Linked DNA regions of Homo sapiens: regions 2, 3 and 4 are each linked to region 1. Evidence: promoter capture Hi-C in 16 types of primary human blood cells and fetal thymus (Javierre and others, 2016). All regions are on one chromosome and are shown on one strand. Each heading gives the region's core, a stretch centred on a gene start or on the middle of the fragment in contact. The rest is flanking DNA. Distances are from core to core; before and after follow the strand shown.

The links. Contacts are between HindIII fragments. The CHiCAGO score rates a contact against its expected background, and 5 or more counts as called.
Region 2: a contact is called between the fragment with the promoter of TMEM177 here and the fragment with the promoter of INSIG2 in region 1, in 1 of 17 cell types (total CD8 T cells). The highest score is 5.2, in total CD8 T cells.
Region 3: a contact is called between the fragment with the promoter of C2orf76 here and the fragment with the promoter of INSIG2 in region 1, in 1 of 17 cell types (naive CD8 T cells). The highest score is 5.4, in naive CD8 T cells.
Region 4: the fragment with the promoter of STEAP3 here is called in contact with the fragment with the promoter of INSIG2 in region 1 in 8 of 17 cell types (erythroblasts, total B cells, naive B cells and 5 more); the score reaches 10.8 in erythroblasts.

What each region holds. Positions count from the first base shown.
Region 1 is chr2:118,086,955-118,089,971 of GRCh38, forward strand. It overlaps INSIG2 (insulin induced gene 2), which reads left to right and starts at 1,517. Exons shown (of 6, transcript NM_016133.4): 1 at 1,517-1,587. LOC107985940 (a long non-coding RNA gene) reads right to left here and starts at 1,477. Exons shown (of 3, transcript XR_001739662.3): 1 at 1,297-1,477. RefSeq lists enhancers at 1,222-1,271, 1,282-1,471. The HindIII fragment of the contact is 7,859 bases long and covers 1-3,017 here.
Region 2 is chr2:119,677,599-119,680,615 of GRCh38, forward strand. It overlaps TMEM177 (transmembrane protein 177), which reads left to right and starts at 1,603. Exons shown (of 2, transcript NM_030577.3): 1 at 1,603-1,678. RefSeq lists a silencer at 1,450-1,679. The HindIII fragment of the contact is 6,463 bases long and covers 1-3,017 here.
Region 3 is chr2:119,365,340-119,368,356 of GRCh38, forward strand. C2orf76 (chromosome 2 open reading frame 76) reads right to left here and starts at 1,495. Exons shown (of 6, transcript NM_001322331.2): 1 at 1,451-1,495. It overlaps DBI (diazepam binding inhibitor, acyl-CoA binding protein), which reads left to right and starts at 1,638. Exons shown (of 4, transcript NM_001079862.4): 1 at 1,638-1,721; 2 at 2,849-2,966. The coding sequence starts at 1,713. RefSeq lists enhancers at 1,069-1,328, 1,699-2,028, 2,559-2,758 and a silencer at 1,449-1,598. The HindIII fragment of the contact is 12,909 bases long and covers 1-3,017 here.
Region 4 is chr2:119,222,342-119,225,358 of GRCh38, forward strand. It overlaps STEAP3 (STEAP3 metalloreductase), which reads left to right and starts at 1,493. Exons shown (of 6, transcript NM_182915.3): 1 at 1,493-1,547. RefSeq lists silencers at 1,236-2,015, 2,076-2,145. The HindIII fragment of the contact is 5,957 bases long and covers 1-3,017 here.

The sequences.
Region 1 (3,017 bases), core at 267-2,766:
GAAATTTGAAAGCTACAGAAAACATTAGAGAAAACACTAAGATATAGGAAATGTTAGAGAAGCATCATGCAAATACTTGCCTAGAAACATTTTGTTGGAATTCAGATTCTTTTTCAATTTTCAGAAGTAAATGTAGATAAAAAGGTCAAAAAACAAAAATCCATCTTATCGTTTATCAGTTCAAAGTAAATGAAAGGAGTTTACCATCTGACAGTCCTTTGGAAAACTATTATGCAATTACTCTCGGCCCAGATTTCATCTAGAACATTCAAGTCCATTGTAATCTTACCACATCCATACACGTTTTGGGTTAAGCCACCTCCAAATGGAATAGCTCAATAACTAATACACTCAAGAGAGATTATTTTTTCTCTCTTTTTAAAAAGAGTTGCTTAAAAAAAACAAATTCAGGGGGCAGCTCACGCCTGTAATCCCAGCACTTTGGGAGGATGAGGCGGGCGAATCACGAGGTCAGGAGTTTGAGACCAGCCTGGCCAATATGATGAAACTCCATCTCTACTAAAAATACAAAAAGTAGGCAGACATGGTGGCATGTACCTGTAGTCCCAGCTACTGGGGAGGCTGAGGCAGAAGAATCACTTGAACCCGGGAGGCAGAGGTTGCAGTGAGCCGAGATCATGCCAGTGCACTCCAGCCTGGGTGACAGAGAGAGACTCCGTCTCAAATAAATAAATAAATAAAAATAAATAAAAATTCAGAATAGGGAAGCAACTCCTCCTTATGACGAGTACCTTTCGGCACTTATATGGGCTTGCTTTTGCATTGATGGCACCACTTTCATTCAAAAAAAAAAGTTCGCTTGCACAATCTGCAAAGATCTGTTTGGCTTGGTTTCATGTTCTAAAAGTATGGTTTTAGATTAAATGAAAAATAATACTTCTGAAAAATAAGCGGTTATAAGGTTTTTAAGTTTTCTTTATGTTGGTGTAAACTTATAAAGCCCTTCCTATGAAAACTGTCCCCCAAATCACATTACTTGGTCGTCCTCGAGGAACGATTTTGAATGAAAAGCACATAAAGTGCTGTAGCATGGAGACGAGAGACAAATAACTATGCCCTTCTCCCAAAATAAGTTATGACTTACTAGGGGAGGAAAAGGAGCAAAGAGTATAAAGCCCGGTCCTCTGCGGGAAGTACCCGGAGGCCTGCCCCGGAACGCGCTCCTTTCGGCTACGAGATGAGGGGCACGCAGACGGACGCGCCCCTCGGTGAGTGTGCGTGTATCAGTGCATGATTCCTTTACTCCGCCCACAGGGTCTGGGCATCCGTCATTACCTACGGCTGCCTGGTCAGCAAACAACAGCAGATCCGACAACCGCCAGTCACCTCGACGGTCCACGCCCACCGCTAGCCTCCAGTTTCCCGCAGACCGGAAGCCCTTTTGCCCCGGCTCGCAGGTCCACGTCTTATTGACAGCAGGAACCGGAAGCTCTTCTGCCCCGATCGCCTGCGCGCGGCCTCGTTGGCCGCACAGGCGCAGTGGAGCTCGGGCGGAGTTGTGGGAGTGGAGGAGGAAGAGGCGGTAGGGGGTACGGGGGCTGGTCCCAGAAGATGGCGGAGGCGGGGGTGAGTTGGGGGTCTCCCGGCGAAGCGCGGGTGACGTGGTGCTGAGGAAAGCGGCCTGAGGAGGAGGGTGGCCCTTGGGAAGAAGAACTACTTGTGTTTTTGCAGCCTGGGAACCCTGGTGGCAGGTGCGGGGAGCCAGGACCACTGATGGGCCTGCAGGGCAAGGGGCTCCGCTTACCTGAGAGGGGTCCGCAAGGTCCAGAAGGGGACTGCGGGATCGGGGAGGGGGTATAGGAGGGGTCGAGGCTCCCCGGACAGTGGATGAGTGTCTGAGCGGGAAGAAGGCTGGAGGACGGCGAGAAGGGCGACCCAATGGTCTGATGAGGTGGAGGTCAGCGAGCTGTCAAGCATAGAGCTGCCAGGACTTGGGGGCTTGTAGCCTGGGAGAGAAGACTCAGACTTGGGCGGGGATTGGATCCAAAGAAGACAGGTTGTCGTAGTAAGTTTATAATCCACTAAGGAGATAGGGCATTGGGTTGAGGAGTAATACTCTGGCATTTTTGACTGGAATTGGTTACCTATGGAATAGGTGTTTCGGTAAAGCCAAATAATTCTTGCCAGGGCCTAGAAGTGGATTTGATGATAATTACTAGATTTTAGGGTTGCTTAGTGGGGATTGGCAATATGGAGAAGGAAAGCAGTGTGGATTATGGGAGTGGGCGCGGGCAATGGCGCTAACACTTAAGTGATAATGACCCATGTCCAGTTAACGTTGGAAAAAGTTGTTAAAGTATGATATTAGCTAGATGCTCTAGGAAAATATACCATGAAGAACTTGCTGTTTTGTAGGATTGATGAAGAAATGCTTTAAAAAGGAATGGTTAGGCTTGGCAGCTGGGCCACTGAAACTGTTTGGTATCAGTATTGCGGTGGAGCTGAGGACTGCAGGGGAATGCGTGCTCCCGTCCTGGTGCAGAAAAAATAAAAGCAGCCAGACAGTAGCTAGATGGTGTTTTGTAACTTTTGGGTTTGGCCCTGATAGTGAACCACTGAATGAAGATGGATGAAGGGAATGCTACTAATGGGGGCCCCAAAGAAAACAAAAATCAGACGTGTGCTCTTCCTGTTTTCTGTCTTTCATTCTTTCCCTGTACTTTGTGCTCAGTACTGTGTTTTGTCATTGTGTTATGTCGTAGTTCTCAGTTCACATCTGCTGTACAGTGACCAAGCTGTGAATCATGTCCACTCGGGAAAGAGGTTGATTCTGTTTAACTGACAACTGTTGCTTTTGCAGATGGTCACACGGAAAAGGAAAGAATAAAATGCAGTTCAGTAGTTTAAAGAGTTTTCTTTGTTCTCAGAAACTTATCTCGAAACGATGGAGTAACTTTTTTAGGCACTGAGATGTGACATTTAAAACCTGTAAGGGGCTGTAAATGCAGCTAACTTACTGGTTTCTATGTTTGGGTTTTAATGTTGAGAGGAAAGAG
Region 2 (3,017 bases), core at 353-2,852, 1.6 Mb after region 1:
GCTAATTTTTGTATTTTAGTAGAGACGGAGTTTCACCATGTTGGCCAGGCTGGTCTTGAACTCCTGACCTCAGGTGATCTGCCCTCCTTGGCCTCCCAAAGTGCCAGGATTACAGGCGTAAGCCACCGCGCCCAGCCCAAGGTGTCTTTTTTACAGTTAGTTTATTTGGTTCAGGATCCCAATAAAAGTCACATATTGCATTTAACTGCAATGACTCTCAAGTCTCTTTTCTTTTGAGTCCCCCTCCTTCCCTGTTTATGCCATTGATTTGTTGGATAAACCACGTCATTTGCCCTGTAGAATGTCCCACATTCTGGCTTTGGCTGAGGTCACATTGCACTATTTACATACAAACAACTGAGCAGCCAAAATTGGGGGGGGGGGCTCAGAAACAGAACAGACTTTAATAATAATAGCTAATGGCTAGGCGGCACAAACCGTGAGGCACAGGTTACATATACACCAACTCATTTTATCACACAGCTAGTAAGGGGTGGAGCCCGGCTTTAACCCTAGGCAGTCTGTTTTCACCCTCTGTAAAGGATTGGGCATGGCTGTGTTCCAAGAAAACTTTATTTACAAAAGCAGGTGGAGAGCTGGATTTGGTGCACAGATTAGATGATCCCTCATCTACCTCACAGAGCAGCTGGAAAGGAGAAATGACAGATGGCACGCTGCTCTGTGGACTGTACAGTGTGAAGCACCTGGGAGGAGCTTGGGGGGCAGCGAACATGGTAATAAACATAAAGCTCAGAGCTCCCCGCCAAGGGTGAGCGCTTCCAGACGGAGAAGTACACGGGCCGGCCAGTCAGATGGGCATGGGTTCTGATGGGGGCCCTGCCATAGGCCGCCTGGTGACCCACGCGGGGCTGCCGTTCCTTCGGGGGTTCAACGGCATGATCAAAGACACCGGGATGTGTGTGTGTGTGTGTGTGTGTGTGTGTGATGATCAAAGACACCGGGGTGGGTGTGTGTGTGTGTGTGTGTCATGATCAAAGACACCAGGGTATGTGTGTGTGTGTGTGTGTGTGTGGCATGATCAAAGACACCGGGGTGTGTGTGTGTGTGTGTGTGGCATGATCAAAGACACCGGGGTGTGTGTGTGTGTGTGTGTGTGTGACGGAGTCTCGCTCTGTCGCCCAGGTTGGAGTGCAGTGGCGTATTCTCGGCTCACTGCAACCTCTGCCTCCCAGGTTCAAGCGATTCTCCTGCCTCAGCCTCCCCAGCAGCTGGGGACTACAGGCGTGCGCCACCACGCCCAGCTAATTTTTGTATTAATCAAAGACGCATTTCAACGCAGAGGAGGAAGTGCTAGCGGACCCACCCCAAGGTGCACAGTTAGAGAAGGAGCCTCTGCGGCGGCCGGAGCCCCCCACGGACATCCCCTTGAGGCCCCCCCAGCCACACCCCCAAGAGTCCCGCCCCCAGACCCGTCGAGCGAGCTCCCCTCCCTGAAATCCTCGCCCCGAGATCTCCGGCCGGCGAGCTCCGCCCCCTGAAGTCCCCATCCCAAGATCCGGGGCCGGCGAGCTCCGCCTCCCGAAGTCCCCGCCCCCAGATCCCCGGCCGGCGTGCTTTGCGGCCGCCCTGCCGCGCGCACATGTAGGCGTTCCGAGCGGCGGCGGAGGTGAGCGCACGGACGAGCGGGAGGGACCCTTCTCCGGCCTGATGCGACCCGGTAACGCGTTCAGACTGCGGAGTAGCCTAGGGGCCCAGAGTGGAAGCGTAGCGAGGACCCCTCTGCGGGGCTCCTGCAGCCCCTCCTCCCCCAGCCACCGGCGGGCTGCATGGTACTGTGTTCTAGGCCCACCCCGCAGCGCGATGGCCCTAGGGACGTTGGACTTTGGTCCAGACCTTTCCTTTCTTAGCCTCACTTTCCGCATTGGGAAAAAAAAAAAGCCCGAATGATAATGATTCTTATAGGAGTTCTTGATTAAGATAGGCCAAGCGGTACCCTGCGTTTTTGTTTGCGGCAACTCATTCGTTGCTCATTAAGCACTTTTCACGGACAGGAATACAGTAAGTTTCAATCAAAGTGAAATAATTGTGAATTTTTACTGACGTATTCACGGATGAAGTGATAGGATGCCCGGGGATGTTTCAAAATAAACCAGTTGGACGGAAGTGTGGTGGAAAGAGAAATCAAACAAGATTGGCCATGAGTTGATGGGATTGAAGTTGATGGATGTACTATTTTGTCTACTTTGGTATATGCTTGTAATTTGGCATAACAAGTTTTCTAAAACAAAAAGTTTGCTGTGGACACCTGACTATGCCTGTGTTAGCTTGCTAGAGCTGCCATGCCGAAGTACCGGAGACTGGGTGGCCCAACCAGCAGAAATTTGTCCTCTGGGAGTTATGGAGGCTGGAAGTTCAAGACCAGGGTGTTAACAGGGTTGGTGTCTTCTGAGACCTCCCTTCTTGGCTTGTAGGTGGTAGCCTTTTCCCTGGATCCTCACATGATCTTCCTGCTGTGCCTGTTTGCATCCTAATCTCTTCTTATAAGTACACCAGTCAAATTGGATTAGGATCCATACTGATGGCCTCATTTTATCTTAATTATCTCCTTAAAGACCCTGTCTCCAAATACAGCCACAGTCTGAGGTACTGGGGGTTAGGACTTAAATATATGAACTGGGGAGGAGGAGGAGACACAGTGCAGCCCATAACACTGTCACTTCACTAGCTTAGGATTTTGGCCATTTAAGTTTTCACAGCTTTGAAATAGGGTTAGCTGTAGTAATTAGGTCATGGGGTTGTGAGGGTTCAATCGGTAAGAGTGCTCAGAACTGAGTCTAGCATATAGTAAGCACTCAATAAATTGAACACGTTTTTCCTTATAAATTAGTAATCATAGGGCTTTACCATGGGATGAGTGGAATGAGGCAGTTGGAGTGCCGTGCCCAGCGATGGGAATAAAAGTCATTACAGCCATTATTATAAGGAATATCTGCTGCTGTGCCAGACACTAAATGTTTTATGTATGTTTATTCATGTGCTCATCACCGCCACCCTAG
Region 3 (3,017 bases), core at 245-2,744, 1.3 Mb after region 1:
GAAGAAACCTGCATTTCTTACACTTCAGTGTACTTTCCCCATATTTAACTCCAAGATTTTTGTTAATTTGTTTGGTTTTCCTTTCTCAAACAAAATTATGCTCAGACTGAAAACCCTAGATTTGTTCCCTATTGCATCTTCATTTCTTCCCAAACATTCCATAAAACGTGACCTACATTAAGTTAGCAAGTTAAGTCTGAAAGCGTCTACCTTCCCTGGGGAGGGGGAAGGTGTAGGCAGGGCAGAGATTTGTAGTCCAGCCCTCTTGCCACAAATTATGAATTAGAGAGGAATGACTTTGCTTTTTTAATGATCTCCAGAGAATTTTCCATCATTTCCCTCTCTTCACCCAGCTCCTTTGCAACCACTGCCAGAGAAGTCTTCCTTTAGCTTCTTAAACATCGATCCTAAAACACTTCCAGACACCTGTGCTGCTCCTTTCAGTTCCCATGGAGATTAGGCTGTGTAACAATCTCGCAAAGACGTTCCCCTCCGTCTCCTCATCCTCTTTTCAAACCCTTTTACGATTTCCCATCTCACTCAGCATGACAGTCAAAGTCCCTGTGATGGCCAACTTCTGCATCACCTAGCCAGTCTGCCACCGCCAAAACTCTCCAGCCTCATCTTTCTACTCTTCCCCTGGTTCCTTGCCCACGCCTTTACACTTGTTCTCTGCTTGGAATCTTCCCTCCCCTCCTTGAGGAACTTTCTCAAATGTCACCTTCCCTCAATACTCCCCCTCCTCCATTTAAAACTATAAACTTCCAACTCTCTAAGCCCCTAAAGTACTCTATATTTAACTTATTGTATAAACTACTGTCCCTACTTGTAAGTTCCAAGATTGCAGGGATTCACCCGCTTTGTTCACTGCTGTCTGCCAAGGTCTAGAACAGTGCAAGTTACCCAACAGGAGTTCAATAAACAGCCATTCATTTAACAAATATTTGCTGAGCACTTCGTCCCGTCCAAGTTTGTTAAATCAAGACAAATAAGACACCGTCCCTGCCTTTAACGCACCAGATGGAGAAATGCACCACAGACATAAATGTGCAATACAGGCCTGACACTACGGCCACAAGCAAGTCAAAGAACGTGCCAAAAGTTCAGAGGAAGAAGCCTCGGCTTCGCCTTTCGGGAGACCAGTCCAGCTTTCCACCATCACGCTGCTCATCAGGGACCATCTCCGGGGGTCTCCTCTAGACCCCAAGGGAGGAGCGGGTCCCGCCCGCCATTCCCAGGTCTCAGAGTTTACTTGTCCAGAGATGCAACTTCCGGCCTCTTCAGGCCGGGCAAGATTTAAGGAAAGAAAAGAAACATAAGGACCTCCGTTCTTCGGTCTCCGTCCCCTCCCCTTCCCCCGCGTGCCGTCCCCACAACGGGCCAGGACTGAACCCAACTCTCGACCAACTCCCGGCAGCAAAACTAAGCACCCTACTTCCGTTGTCCCCACCTGTTCCCGGCGTCCCCTTCGGCTACTCCCGGCGTTTGCGCAAGCGGTCCCACGTGGGCTCGGGCGGGGCTAGCGCCGCGGCGGGGGCTGGGCACGCCCCTAGCGCATAGCTGGCTTCTGATTGGCTTTCCGGTGCTCGCCCGAGCAGGGTTGGGGCGAGTGGACCGCGCCTCTAAAGGCGCTTGCCAGTGCAATCTGGGCGATCGCTTCCTGGTCCTCGCCTCCTCCGCTGTCTCCCTGGAGTTCTTGCAAGTCGGCCAGGATGTCTCAGGTACAGCGCGTGCACAGCCAGGCTGCGAAGGTGCAGCGGGCGGGAGGCCCGTTGGGGGCTCAGCCGGCTGCCAGAAGCTCTCGGGCTCTTTCCTTCCGTGCCCCTCACTTGCTCATGGGCCCATGCCTAGCCCTGATTCGTTGGACAGAGCCTTGTGAGCGGGATTTTCCGTTTGGGGATTTCTAAATCTGCTGCCCACCCCGCAACTGCCGGAAAGTTGCCCATGGGGTGGACTTCGCTGTGTAGCGGGAGAGGGGTGGGAGTCGAGGGTGCTTGATGGAGAGATGGGGGAAGGGGTTGCACGGATTGGAGGAGCGAGGAGACTCAGTCCCCATCCCGAAGCACAGGGCAGGACGTCGCGGCGGAGTGGGGAAGCGAGGAGTCCGTGGCCGAGAGCTTGGAGGTCAGGGGAAGTACGGGGCCGGCTGCTCAGAGTGCGGGACGAGGAGAATCGCGGCCCGGGGAGAGGTGACCCAGGGGCCCCTCCCTTCTCTCCAGTGTAGACCCTTGTCTGAGACCGAGCTATGTGGGGCGACCTCTGGCTCCTCCCGCCTGCCTCTGCCAATCCGGGCACTGGGACAGAGGTCGGTGTTGAACGCGCGGGCCCCAGGGGGAGGGAGGGGACCAACGGGCTCCGGCGCTGACACCGCGGCACTCATGCCCTGTCCCCTTTCAGCTGTTTCCAGCATACTGTGCCCCGTCTGTCCTCAGGCCAGGGCTTCGCTGCAGCCCCGGCCACTCCCTAGTGCCTGGCCCGGTGGTGGCCAGGCAGTTGGCCGCGCTGCTTCTCCCGCAGAGGGGACCCCCACTGGGGGCGAAGGCTTGGCCTGCCCTCTTCACTGCTGTATTTCCAGACCTGATGCCTGCGTTTGTGAGAGCTCTGGATATATGGTTTTCGATTGAATGAGTGAACTGGAGGGGCTTCCCCTTCTTGTGTTGCTGAATCTTTCTAGCTGCCCTGTTGGGGCAGGGAGGGGCAGACACACTTCAGGGGCTGCATTGCCCGAAGGGTGCCACCTTTCCCACCTCTCCATCCCCGTAACTGGGCTGTCATCAGGCCACAGTAGGATTCTTACCCTCTCCCACCCAGAGGAGGCCCTCAATCCTCTCCTCTCCCTTCCATTTAGGCTGAGTTTGAGAAAGCTGCAGAGGAGGTTAGGCACCTTAAGACCAAGCCATCGGATGAGGAGATGCTGTTCATCTATGGCCACTACAAACAAGCAACTGTGGGCGACATAAATACAGGTATGCAGAGCGGGGGTTGGAAGGGCATCTGCTCATCAAAGCAGGCTCAGC
Region 4 (3,017 bases), core at 243-2,742, 1.1 Mb after region 1:
GCAGGGGCCACTCACCAGCCCTGGCACCCTAAGGGCAGGAACCTCCATTGGGCACGTGTGTCTCCAGCACTGGGAGCACTGTCTGGCACCTGGGGCACTGTGAGTGTTGAATGGATAAAGGACCTGTAAGAATTGCCATAAGAGGTGTTGCCCTGGGGCAAGGTGGGACAGGAAAGTTCTTGCAAGAGAAGAGAGGCTCTGGCCTTGGGCCCTGGCTGAGCAGAGAGCTGGGAGGTGGGTATTCGGGTAGGAGGAAAGCTGTGGAGGGGGAAAGCAAACTGCCTGCGGGGGTGGGGGGGTTCTCGGCGGGAGTTGGGGGTGGAGGGAAAGGCGCTTTACAGCAGCACTCCCTCCACAGGGAGACCAGAGCTCTGCCTCTTCCTCCCCACCGTGCCCTTTGGGGTCCAGTTGTGGGGCCTTCCTTGAGGCCCAGCTCCTGCCTCTGGCCTCCGGAGGCTTATCTCCCCAACAGAGGCTGGCTCCCCAGAAAACAGGATTCTTAGACTTCCTAAAAATAACCTGAAGCTCCTTATCAGAGGCTAATAGTGTATGTCTCCCAGGAATACTCTAGAAAGAGTACCAGGGGTCAGGAACCCCCACTCAGCCTCCACGAATCTGAGCGGAAAAGCCCGGGTCTCCTCACCTGTAAAGAAAATAACTGCAGCCGGCAAATGTGACCACAGGTGAGAAGGGGCTTCGGACCAGGGCGCACACCTCTAGAGAGGTGCCCACAGACAGCCTCCCCTTACTTACGCCCTGCTTCGCTGCAGTGCTGTGAAGCCATCGGCATTGGAAGTGCGGAGGGCAGCGGGCAGTGCCCCAGGGGGAAGGGGGGACGGGTAGGGTTTCAGAGCCCAGAAGGCCTAGACAGGGAGGCAGCTCCGGGAGAAAGGTACCCGCCATCCCACCGGTCTTGGAACCTGAGGACTGCTGGGAAGGGTCAAAAGTCTGCCCTAAGGGTGGACAAGGGACAGAGATTGGGGGGGGACCACAAAGGCCTGGGCGCAACCTTGTTGAGAGGGAAGGGATCCGGACCCAATCTGGAGCCCTGGTCTCTTCCCACCTGCAACCGTGGCTGCCACTTGGCCTCGGTTATAAAATGGACAAGGATTCGAGGTGCTCCTCAGGTTAAGAGAGGGGGGCCTAGAGGTCACCCTGGCCTCGGTGCCCTCCGTGGCCGGGTTAAGAGGAGGTCCCGGAGTTCTGCTCACTTCAGCCGTGTGCCGGGCACTGCAAATCAGGAAGTGTTGGCGCCGGCTGGCGACCTCCCGCCTGGGGCCAGGGGAGGAGGGTGGTTGGACGCTGCCACCGCTGCCGGGGCTGTGCAGGGCTGGGCGGGGAGCGAGGACCCGGCGGCTCCTGATTGCGGCCCCGGGGGAGGTGGCCGAGCCGGATAAGCTGCGGCGGGCTGGAGGGCGGCCACCTCCCCTGCAGGTCCGGCCCTCCCGGGCGGGTGGGGCGCGGGGGAGGAGGAGCCTCGGGCCGAGCCACCGCCTTCGCCGCGGACCTTCAGCTGCCGCGGTCGCTCCGAGCGGCGGGCCGCAGAGGTGAGTGTACCCTCCCCCGGTCTCCGCGGGGCTGCGTGCTGCGCCCGGTCCCCGAGACGCCCGCCCGGTTGCACCCTGCGCCGTCGCTGCGCGGACCTCGGGTGCCGCCACACGTCTGGAGGCGACTTCTGTCCCCTGGGACCGAGCCACGTGCGCCCGGCGGCAGAGAAACCGGGTTCCGGGGCCCCCACCCCGTGTGCCTTCCTTCCCTAGGCGTGGAAGCCGCTTGCGCCGCGCAGGTTAGGCAGGGCCGGCGGCGACAGTGGCGGGGAGCAGGCTCCGGAGCCCCGGGTGCAGATGTGGGCGCCCCTCCGGATGACCCCGGCTGAGTCCACAGGTCCCGTGTGCCCCACGGCTGGGGCTCTGGCCAGCGGTCCCAAAGGAGGGCTGGTAGCTGTGGGCGGGGATCTTCCAGGCTCTTCCTCGCCAGACCTCCCAGTCCCTTCGCAGCCGAACAGGGCAGGGACAGGGGCAGGTGCAGGGGCTGGGCAGGGGCGCCCGACCTTGGTCCCCAGGAGGAGGCTGGCCTCACCAGTGCCCGCCTCTGCCCGCGGAGCCCTTGCCTGGCAAAGTTCCCCCTCCTGCCCGGCAAAGCTCCCCCTCCTGCCCACTTCCCCGAAATTTGGGGACAGGCTGCCCGGAGAGGTGTGGTTGGAACTTTGGTCACTCTGGGTAAATGAAGGGGAGGGTGTGCCCAGATAATATGCGGTTTGGGGACCAGAAAGCCGGATCCGTGGGGAGAAGCAGGAAGGTCCCGCTGGAGCCCTGGCAGAGGGCACAGAGAGGCCTCCCAAATATCCAGGGCCACCTCAGAGATGGGCTCCAGAAGTGGGGATTCTGGAAATGCCCCCAGGGAGGTATTTCTGTCCATCAGAGTGCAGCCATAATATAATTAACAGCAGATATTCCCATTTATGTGTGCCAGGCATCTTGCTAAGGGCTTTGAGCACAATATCCCAGTTAATCCTCACAACAGGAAGGCACCATTATCTCTTGTTAAAAATGGGGAAACAGCCTCAGAGAGTCCACGTATTTTGCAAGGATACACAGCTAGGAAGTTGCAGAAGTAGAATTTGAACCCAGAGTTATCTGACTTGGAGCCCAGAGGAACCTACCACTGGGGCGAAACAGGCTGTGTCCTCACGGGGATTCTGGCAGCCCCAAGAATACAGTGCTGAGAGCCAGAAGGTCCACAAAACCAAAGGGTCTCACCTGGGTGTGTCCTCTCAGTCACCTGCAAGGCTTGTTAAAAATATAGATCCCCAAGTCCCATCCGAAGCTGACTGAATCAGCTAGGGGCACCTGGAGGACCCAGACTATGTCTTACTCATCTCTGTCCCTGGTGGCCTGCAGAGGGGCTGGCAAGGAGCAGGTGCTTAGTGAATGTCTAATGGGTAAGTGGGCGGGGTGGGGTAGATGGTGTCACTAGTGTCCTGAAGGGGGCTTAAATGGAGCAGGTGGCCTCAGCCA